Linked DNA regions of Homo sapiens: region 2 is linked to region 1. Evidence: promoter capture Hi-C in 16 types of primary human blood cells and fetal thymus (Javierre and others, 2016). All regions are on one chromosome and are shown on one strand. The core of a region is centred on a gene start or on the middle of the fragment in contact, and the rest is flanking DNA. Distances in the headings are between cores, read along the strand shown.

The links. Contacts are between HindIII fragments. The CHiCAGO score rates a contact against its expected background, and 5 or more counts as called.
Region 2: the fragment with the promoter of AZIN2 here is called in contact with the fragment with the promoter of LAPTM5 in region 1 in 1 of 17 cell types (non-activated CD4 T cells); the score reaches 6.7 in non-activated CD4 T cells.

What each region holds. Positions count from the first base shown.
Region 1 is chr1:30,755,911-30,760,812 of GRCh38, forward strand. LAPTM5 (lysosomal protein transmembrane 5) reads right to left here and starts at 1,864. Exons shown (of 8, transcript NM_006762.3): 1 at 1,749-1,864. The coding sequence starts at 1,835. RefSeq lists enhancers at 1-5, 671-1,467, 1,596-1,875, 2,944-3,013. The HindIII fragment of the contact is 6,145 bases long and covers 1-2,577 here.
Region 2 is chr1:33,078,407-33,083,308 of GRCh38, forward strand. It overlaps AZIN2 (antizyme inhibitor 2), which reads left to right and starts at 2,747. Exons shown (of 12, transcript NM_052998.4): 1 at 2,747-2,888; 2 at 2,982-3,102; 3 at 3,195-3,406; 4 at 3,772-3,948. The coding sequence starts at 3,844. It overlaps LOC105378635 (a long non-coding RNA gene), which reads right to left and starts at 2,590. Exons shown (of 3, transcript XR_947163.2): 1 at 2,515-2,590; 2 at 1,793-1,921. RefSeq lists a silencer at 2,709-2,968. The HindIII fragment of the contact is 16,354 bases long and covers 2,150-4,902 here.

The DNA.
Region 1 (4,902 bases), core at 614-3,113:
TGGGCCAAGCAAGGGCTCCCGGGGTCACCGCAGGCCCCATCTGCCCCCTGCTGTCACTCACATGGCCTGCCCAGACCCTAGAGGCATCAGAGTTGGAGACCTCTGAGCCAGTCAACATCACCTTACCCCTGACTTTATAAAAGGGAAACTGAGGCCCAGAGAGAGGCTTGTCTGAGCCCATACAGCCAGTTAGTGGCAGGGCTGGGGTGAGGACCCAGGGACTTGCTACCTGTGAGGCGCCCCTGCATGCCACACTGTCCTTCTAAGAATGTGCATAGTCTCAGAGCTTGAAGGCCTAAAATACAGGGTACAGGGACACTCAAAGAGTGATTTGCTTCTCTCAGCTCTTGCATTGGCAGGAGCTCGGAAGGACAACCTCTGAGTTCCTCCTCCCAAAACTAGAGTCCTTGAATCTGACAACTTGACTCCAAGGATGCTGACAGCAGGTGCCATGTCTGATGCACAACGAATAATAAAGCACTCACCTGTGCGTCAGGCGTGGTTCTGCATGCTTTGTATGTATCAACTCCCTGAGCCTCACAACAAACCCTATCAGATGGGTATGATAATTCACATCCCCATTTTTTTAAATGAGAAAACTGAGGCTCAGAGAGGTTAAGTAAATTGCCCAAGGCTGCAGAGCTGGGAAGCAGGGAAGCCAGGATTTGCATGCAGGAGTCTGCATCCAGAGGCCGTGGGCTAACCACTGAACAGCATCGCCCCCCTGAAGGCTGGGCTCTTGCCACAGCTCTGCCTGCCCTGCCTGTGACAGGAAGCAGACGCAGGCAGGTCTGAGTTTGCAGCAACCCACCGCAGCATGTGGATCTAGGCTAATTTTGAGGAAGCCCTTCCAGACTCATGAGAAAACTGTTAACCACAGGCCCTGAGTCACCCCAGGAGGAAGTCGCTTGGGTCTAGGGGAGATGAGTGTGGCCAGGAGTTTGGGAGTAGGGTGGGTCTAGGCAGGACAGTACAAGGACACTGACCCTCAGCCACCCCAGGCAGAGGGGCAGCCTTGGCCCCCGGGCACTGTGACTTGCCCAAGACCACACTGTGAGTCACCAGGAAAGGAGGAACCAGTGACAGCCGTGACTTCACAAGTTGCCCAACAAGAGCTTGGGCCGGACAAGTTACCCTAATGATTAGCACAGGTCTCAAGTTCTCTTTGGTGGGCAGAAGGCCGTGGTTTGACTGAGCTGGAAGCTGAGAGGACACGGCCCCTGCCTCCCCACTGGAGGCACAAAGGGGAGATCCCCACTTCTCATCCCCTCGAGTGGCCCAGGCTCCCTCCAGGCCCCAGGGGAAGAATCGGGGCTGTGTCTGCGGCCGACCTCACATCCCGGTCAAACAATCCCAGCCCACGTTCCTCCCAAGATCCCTGCCTTCCAAAGCACTTTCACATCTGCTGTTGGCTTTGCACACAAATAACCTTCCGGCTGCTGCTGTGCCCCATCTCACAGAGGCAGAAACGGAGCCAGCCTCGGAGTGAACGTCAGTTACATTTGCCTGGAAAGTGGATTCCAGCTCCCTTACTCCTCACTCTTGCGGCATCTCCCCAGGGTACCCCCAGCCATTTGACAGAGAAGGAAACTGAGGCCCAGAGCAGGACAGGGATTTGCCCAGGGTCCCCCAGAGAGGTGGAGAGCAGGAGTTCTTTCATTTGTGGGGCTCCGTAGATGACGGGTCACCGCAGACATTCACACTCACACAAGCACGCACGCACACACACCCGGGGCCCGCACACTCACCACATGGTAGATGGCCAGGGCGGTGGTTGCGATGCGGACATTGAAGCAGCAGCAGGTCTGGCGGACAGTGGACAAGCGGGGGTCCATGGTGCTGCCGTCCCCTCCTCTGAGACACTGAAGGGGAAAGAGCCTGGTGCCTGGAGCAGGGCAGAGAAGGGGAAGCTGCTGGCTGCCCTCCTCACTTCCTTCCTGCCCCTTAGACAGGCAGGGACAAGGTCGTCACAGCTGGGGCGGGGCAGCTGGGGAGGGGGAGTGGGGACAGGGCAGCAGCCTGCCTCAGAGCACCCCACTGCCCTCTGCCATTCCCAGGAGGGGGTTCCAGAGAGGACAGACCCTAACACGGTCATCATGCCCTTCTCTGCACCAGGGCCAGGGTTCCACCGTTTCACACAGCTTGCTTACTAGAAGAACACTACCAACTTTGGAAGCCAGGACTGTTACCAAGCCCATTTCCAGATGAGGAAACAGCTGTCCAGAGAGGTCAAGGCACTTGCCCCAAATCACACAGTAGTTAGCACTGGTGGCAGAATTCAAACCCAGATCTGTCTGGCTGCAAAAATAGCTATTGTCTAGGAGGCATTTCCTGCCTCTTCCAGGCATGCTCCTGGATTCACTCCTTTCATCCTCACCTCAATCCTTTGAGAGAGGTACTATTATGATCCCCATTTTACAGATGAAGAAACTGAGGCACAGAGAGGGGGAATGATTCGTGCAAGGTCACACAGCTAGTCAATGAAGGTGCAAGGATTTTAACTGAGGCTGACTGGTGCTAGAAGCCTCCCTGGAGCTGGTGTTCTCTCCCACTTCCTCACCCTGAGCCGCAGGGAGAAGCTTGTTCTTCCTAAGCTACGAAGAGGCGTGCAGGGCTCCAGACAAGGACGGAAGAATAACCAGGAAGCAAACCCATCAACTGTGCGCCAGGCCCTGGGCTAGGCTTCTCTTCTAGGTGGGTCAATAACTCTTCACAGCAATCTGTGAGACCCGAACCTCACTTTCAGGGCCTCAAGACCCAATCCCCATACTCACACAAAATCAGGGATTGCTTTTCCCCCTTGATCTTGCAAAAAGTTGGAATTAATAAGCCACAACTCTTAGGCAAGCTACCCTGGAATCTCTACTCCCTCCTCAGATGATAAATTATCCATATTGCAATAAAGAAAGGGAATAGGAAGTACATGCAACATTTCTGGAAGAAGCCCTGCTTCATTCCACAGCTGAGCCCCTTTGCAATGCCAAGCTTCTAGTGCAGAGCAGACAGGAACTGCCATGAAGCCCTGCCCTCCCAGGAGATCATGGAGTTAGGATTGGACACTGCTGCAGCCCATCATTTCTGCCCCAGGAGAGGTTATAGAAAGTCCCTAAGCTCCTCCCACTTGGCAGGAGTTGCTCTGTTAGACCCACAAAACTTGATTGGTGGACTTGATCAATCCATTCTCCATGTGCCAATGAGACCAAGGGGACTCTGCAAGCTTTGGGCTCCTGGGAGGCCTGGCCTATCCCTTCCCAACTTCATTTTCAAGGCTGTTCCTGTTCCTTCATAAGCCTTGCTGAGGCCTGACATCATAGAAAGGTGACACAGTGCAGTGGTTAAGAACTTTGGCTCCACAGGCCCATGGCCTGGGATCTTCTGGCTGGGTAGGCAGAAAACCAAGAGAAGTCCTCCTTTGTCTAAGAGTAGCAAGACCAGAGGAACTGGAGATCAGGAAACCAGGGGCCAGGAGGGCCCTGAGGCCATGCTGGGGAGTCTGCATTTGATTGTGCACAGAAGCCATTTGACGATTTCCTACCATAATAAATGATAGCCATTCATAACATTGTGATTTGGTGAAACCAGGACAGGTGCAAAGCCAACTCCCAAAGAGAGGGATGAAACACACTGACAGCATGTGGAATAATTGTACATGGTCTATGGGTAAACATTTCTCATTTTTTATGGTGATAAATTCATTTTAATGTGCATTATAAAAATATACATAACTAGTCCATGAATCCTGTGATTTTCCATTTATAGGAGTAATATAAAGTCTCATTTTAAAAGAAATGCATTTAAATAAAAAAGGCAGTAAGTCAATTTAAAGAACATATTAAGGAAGCCACAGCCTAGGAGGACGCAGATGTGGCAGACAGCCCTGGAGGTGGAGTAGGTGGCATCCGTTTGGGAATCCTGGGGCATGGGGAATCCCAGCTCCCCACTTAGTAGCTGTGTGGTGTCAGACAAGGCACTTGATCTCTCTGAGCTGTTGTTTTCACCTCTGCAAAACGGCGGGGCGGTTGGGGGGAACAGAAATTTGCCTGGCAGGGCTGCGGTGAAGGTGAAATGAGGTCACGTGAATGCATCTGTTTGTTTTCTCCCTTCCAGCCCGTCCCTGCTCCCCGATCTCACCCGTACTCAGGCTGCTAGGAGGAGGCAGAGCTGGGATTGAACCCCTGATCTGTCTGATTCTGAGTCCCCTCGGGCACTACCTCCCTCGCAGAAGCAGGAGTTCTGATGCAGTCATTTGTCTCTCACCGGGTCACCAGGCTCCAGCACACACTGGCCCCTTGGCAGGCACCTCAGTCACTCCCTGTGGAGTACAAGCCTGAATCACTTTATTGTCATTCCCAACAAACCCCCTGTGGAGAGGACGGCTATTATCCCAAAGGTCAGACCCTTTGGCCAAAGCCACTGTGATAGGCAGAATAGTGCCTCTCACCCCCCAAAAAAAATCCACCCTAATCTCTGGAACCTGTGCGTACATGGCCTTACATGGCAAAGAAACTTCACAGGCGCCATGAAATTCAGGATCTTGAGGTGGGTGGGGAGATTATCCTGCATTATCTGGATGGCCCTGAGGTCATCAAATGGGTCCCCATAAGTGAAGGAAGATCAGAGTCAGAGAGGGAGTGGAAGATGCCACACTCCTGGCTCTGCAGTTGGAGGAAGAACCATGAGCCAAGGAGTGCAGGCGGCATCCAGAAACTGGAAAAGGCAAGGAAATGGCTTCTCCTCTAGAGGCTCGAAAGGGAATCACTTTCATTTTAGCTCAGCGAGGCGCATTCCTGACTTCTGGCCTCCAGAACTGTAAGACAATAAATGTCTGTTGTAGTCACTGTGTTTCTGGTCTTTTATTATAGCGGCCGCAGGGAACAAATACAGCTGCTCAGTGGAAGCAAC
Region 2 (4,902 bases), core at 1,497-3,996, 2.3 Mb after region 1:
GCAGATTTTTCTGCTCTGATTACTTACTCTTGATAGATTCCAAATGGACAGACTGGATTCTGGCTCGTTTCTTCTTACCTCTATTGATTCATTCAGTAAACATATTGAATGTACCTATTATGTGCCTACTAGGTGATGAAAAAAGCTGGTAGGGCAGACCCAGACCATGACATCCAAATGCAGACAGCTCAGAGAATGATTTAACTAAAAGTAGAGCCAAAGTTATTCGGGTGCTCCTCTCCTCTCAGTCTAATTTTTTTTTTTTTTTTGAGACAGAGTCTTGCTCTGTCACCCAGGCTGGAGTGCGGTGGCGTGATCTCGGCTCACCGCAAGCTCCGCCTCCCGGGTTCACGCCATTCTCCTGCCCCAGCCTCCCGAGTAGCTGGGACTACAGGCTCCCGCCACCGCACCTGGCTAATTTTTTTTTGTATTTTTAGTAGAGATGGGGTTTCACCATGTTAGCCAGGATGGTCTCGATCTCCTGACCTCGTGATCCTCCCATCTCAGCTAGGATTACAGGCGTGAGCCACCGCGCCTGGCCCTCTCAGTATAATCTTTTAGGGTTTCTGCCATGGCCGTCCTAATCTACCCTTCCTGATTGGTAGATACTTGTTCTCATACTATGTTGCAAATGACTATTAATCTCAAAGAAAGGTCCTGCAAATGACTGTCCTATAAAGCTGCCTCCTGAAATACTACTCCTATGCATAGAAAACAAGATGGTTCCAGGCAGAAGGGCCCAGAGAAATCAGTCTGAAACCTCTCAGTTCACAGGGGGAAATCAAGCCAGGCAGAAGTGACCCAGATCCAGTTAGGGTGACTCAGCCAAGGACACCCAGCAATTATATGTCCCAGCTGGGTAGGGAGCAGAAAATGGCTCTCCTGCTTCTGGTCCCTGCCCCACACCATTTGTGTACTGAGCATGTTCTAACTAGGTTGTGCAGTGTCCTAGGGAGATACTAAGGCGGGACAAGAAGTGCCTCTGATTTAAAAAAAAGTCTACAGCCCACTGGGCATGGTGGCTCACGCCTGTAATCCCAGCACTTTGGGAGGCTGAGGCAGGCAGATTGCTAGAGCTCAGGAGTTTGAGACTAGCCTGGGCAACAGGGCGAAACCCTGTCTCTACAAAAAATACAAAAATCAGCAAGGTATGGTAGCATGCACTTGTAGTCCCAGCTACTTGGGAGGCCGAGGTTGGAGGATCACTTGAGCCTGGGAGGTGGAGGTTGCAGTGAGCTGAGGTCATGTCACTGCACTCCAGCCTGGGTGACAGAGCCAGATCTTGTCTCAAAAGAGAAAAAAAAAAAAAAAAGCCCACAGCCTAGCAGGGGACATGAAGACATATGGTAGACCAAAAGCCCTTTGGCTTCATTGATTTGAAATGCTGCCTCCATTGTGTACCAATCTCCAATGTATATGGGACTGTTGTAGACCCTGTTCTGTTTTACCACTGTCTCTTCCTGCTCCAGCACCATACTGTTTTAAAGACTGTAGTTTTGGCCGGGCGCGGTGGCTCACGCCTATAATCCCAGCACTTTGGGAGGCCGGGGCGGGTAGATTACTGGAGGTCAGGAGTTCAAGACCACCCTGGCCAATATGGTGAAACCCCATCTCTACTGAAAATACAAAATTAGCTGTGCGTGGTGGCATGCGCCTATAATCCCAGTTACTTGGGAGGCTGAGGCAGGAGAATCGCTTGAACCCAGGAGGCAGAGGTTGCAGTGAGCTGAGATCGTGCCATTGCACTCCAGCCTGGGCAAAAAGAGTGTCTTGACTGTTCTTGTACACTTACTTTTCCAGATGAACTTTTATATCAGCTTTTGAGTAACACAGCTATTGAATCTTCCTCAGCATTCTTGTCTATGCCAGGCACCAGGCTCTTGAGCAGGGTATTCAGTCCTTGCCCTTGGGAAATCACAAACTAGATGCAAAGTGTAACCAAACAAGAAGTGTAAAATAACAACAGGAATCTCACGCTATGGGTAACAAGAACCAAATGAGTGAGGGGTCCAGACAGACTAAATGCTGTGTTCCTTGGGGCCAGGCAAGTCATGGAAGGTTCAACAGAGGTGACATTATACAGGACTTTGATGGGTGAGCAGCAGCTTTCGGTATAGAAGAAATGCTTTGAGTTGAGGAAGTCCGGGAAAGCTTCTTGGAGAAGGAGACACATTTCTATTGAGAGATGAGTAAGAGTTTGCCGGGTTCACAGGATGGGATAAAGGGAGGGATTGCCCTGAACTGGGAAAGTCACAAAAAGGTTCTCTGAAGACATTTTAGATGCGTTTTGAGTTGGAGTCGGGGAAGATGCCTGGAAGAGGCAATTAAATAAAAAGAATTTTATTACAAAAGTAATACAAGGACATGTCATTGGAACCGGGTTTCGAGAGATGAGTGAGCAGTTCCTGACGCAGACAAGAGCTGGACCACGAAGTAAGTTGAGGCAGAGGCAGAAAAGGCTTCCTGGTCCTGCCCACTCTCTAAGACCTAAGATGCAGGGTCTAAGTGTCTCACCTGCGTGGCGGCGGCCCTGTAGTTCTGACTTCCAGCGTGAGGTAGCCACCGCCAGGCCTCCGGGGGAGAAGACTACAGTAAGGGCGAGCAGAGCTGAATGCTTTATGTCGGAATCGACCAATGGGATGGCGGCACCCGGTTGCCAGGGCTACGGCCAAGCGGAGGTAGGGCCTCGGCACTATGGGCGGGGCCTGGGCGGGGTTATATAAGCCAGCGGCGGGCGGAAGGCGGGGCGTGGGGGTCTGTGGCTGCTGGGCTGGCGGGGCGCAGGCCGCGGGACCCGAGCCCGGGGAAGCGAGAGAGCGGAGGCGCCGAGGATCCGATTCACTCCCTGGGGAGACCTATGGGCCGAAGCCGTGTAAATGCGTTTTAAGGCGAGTGCGGAAAGTGGCCTGGGGAGCCTCGGGGAGCGGACGCCCTCCGCCCTGGTGCTGACCTGCCTCCCTGCCCCTTCTGCCTCCTGTCAGCAGAGGCCTCGGCTCCGCAACTGCCACTCCTCCTCGGGGTGTTGCACAAGTTTCGAGGTCACCGGCGACCCCCCCTAGCAGCGCGCCTGGCTCTGGCCCCCGCGAAGGAGGACGGAGTTTGGTAAGGGGCCCTGGGGGTTGGGGGGACCTCAGCCCTGCACTCTGTAGGAGTCACTCGGACAGAAAAAACCTCGGCCTTCCGTTCTCTCCCAGGAGCTTGCGGCCCCCACCCACCGCGTGGCGTCCCCAGGCACGCCTAGAATTCTAGCACCTCAGGATCAGTCCAGCCCCCATTTACAATTGGGGAAACTGCGGCTCCGAAAGGGTCAGAGGGTACCCGAGGTCAAGCAGTAGAGAGCGGACTCGAACTTAAGCTCTTGCTCTTAGGCTGAGACGCCTTGATGTGGCCACCGGCTACCCTCTAGGTGGGCGTGGTCAAGACTGGGGGCGCCCTGGAAACTTCCCCACCCAAGTTTCTCAGATTTTCTGTTCCATCTCTCTCTCACTCTTTCCTGAAATCCAGAATTTCAGAACTGGGAAGGCTCTCCAAAACAATTCATCCATTTTACAGAGGGAGCAACTGACTCGGAGAGGCAGTGACATTTGGGCATACGGTGCCTTGTCTCCGTCTGAAATCCGGGATTCTTGACTTTCTCCACCCTTGCCCAGTGAACCCCGGGCTTGTGCTGGGGGCGGGTTGTGACGGGATTGGGATCCCTGGCCTCGGGAGGCGAGTGGGGCAGCAGAGCCGGCCCCCCAGCGGTTCCCTTCATCTCCCCTCGCCCCGCAGTGTGTTGCATACTTTCTAAGGCGGCGGCTGCAGCAGCGGCTCCATCCAGCCCGTCAGCTCCTCCTGCAAGGCATGGCTGGCTACCTGAGTGAATCGGACTTTGTGATGGTGGAGGAGGGCTTCAGTACCCGAGACCTGCTGAAGGAACTCACTCTGGGGGCCTCACAGGCCACCACGGTGAGGGGCTGGGAATGGGGGTGGGTCCCCGGTCCCCTGTACAGATCAGCTGCCTCCTCAGGAAGGGTCCCTAGGGCCCTCATCTTATCCTTTCGCTTATTTGGTACGCAATCCTTGCTATTTGCAAGAGAGGGGCTCAATTTATCCCCAATTCTTTGTCCTTGCCCCCAAACCTGCCCCTCCTATGTTGCCTTTTTACCCAGCCCTCCAAGGTCAGAAACGGGGGATTCCTTTCCTGCTGCCCCCTCTCCCTCACCGCCCACATCTAGGCATTACCAAGCTCTGTGAATTCTGCCTCCTTAAATAAGCCTCCAGTGTGCTTATGTGGAACCTCGCTTTCTAGTTCAGTCTTCCTCTCTCCAAAGGCCCCCTGATCTCCCGGTCTCATGCCACCCCCTCCAAAGGTATCATAGTCCTGTTCAAAATCTGAATTTGGCAATTCTCCACTGCCTACAGGATCAAGTCAGAGCTTCCCTGCCTCCATAGCCCCATTCCCAGCTTTCCCCACAGTATATATTATGCTCCTTCGGAGCTGAATGACTCAATTTGCATTTCCCAATGATGCTGTGTGCCCAATGATGCTATTACCATGCCTTTGCCCAGGCTGTTCCTTCTGCCTGCAGCATCCTTCTCTCAGCCTCTCCCCTCTTTACCCCTTTCTAGTCATTCCTTGCTTCTCATCAGTGTTGCCTTTCCTGATCGCCCCAGGCAGATTTTCTATTTTCTTTCTCCATGCCCCTGCATTGCACCTTGTAGAAACTGCCATCTAACATCTGCTGAATGGACTTGTAAGTACTTAAGGGGTTCCTTTTCTTCCAGACCCAAGCTCCTTCAGAACAACAGTACTGTTTGGTCATCTCTGTCCCTTAGCATAACGTTTGGCACCAAGTGGGCATGAGTAAAAAAGTGTTGCATGAAAGGGAAACTGAGTCCCAGGGAAGCAACTCTGGAAGG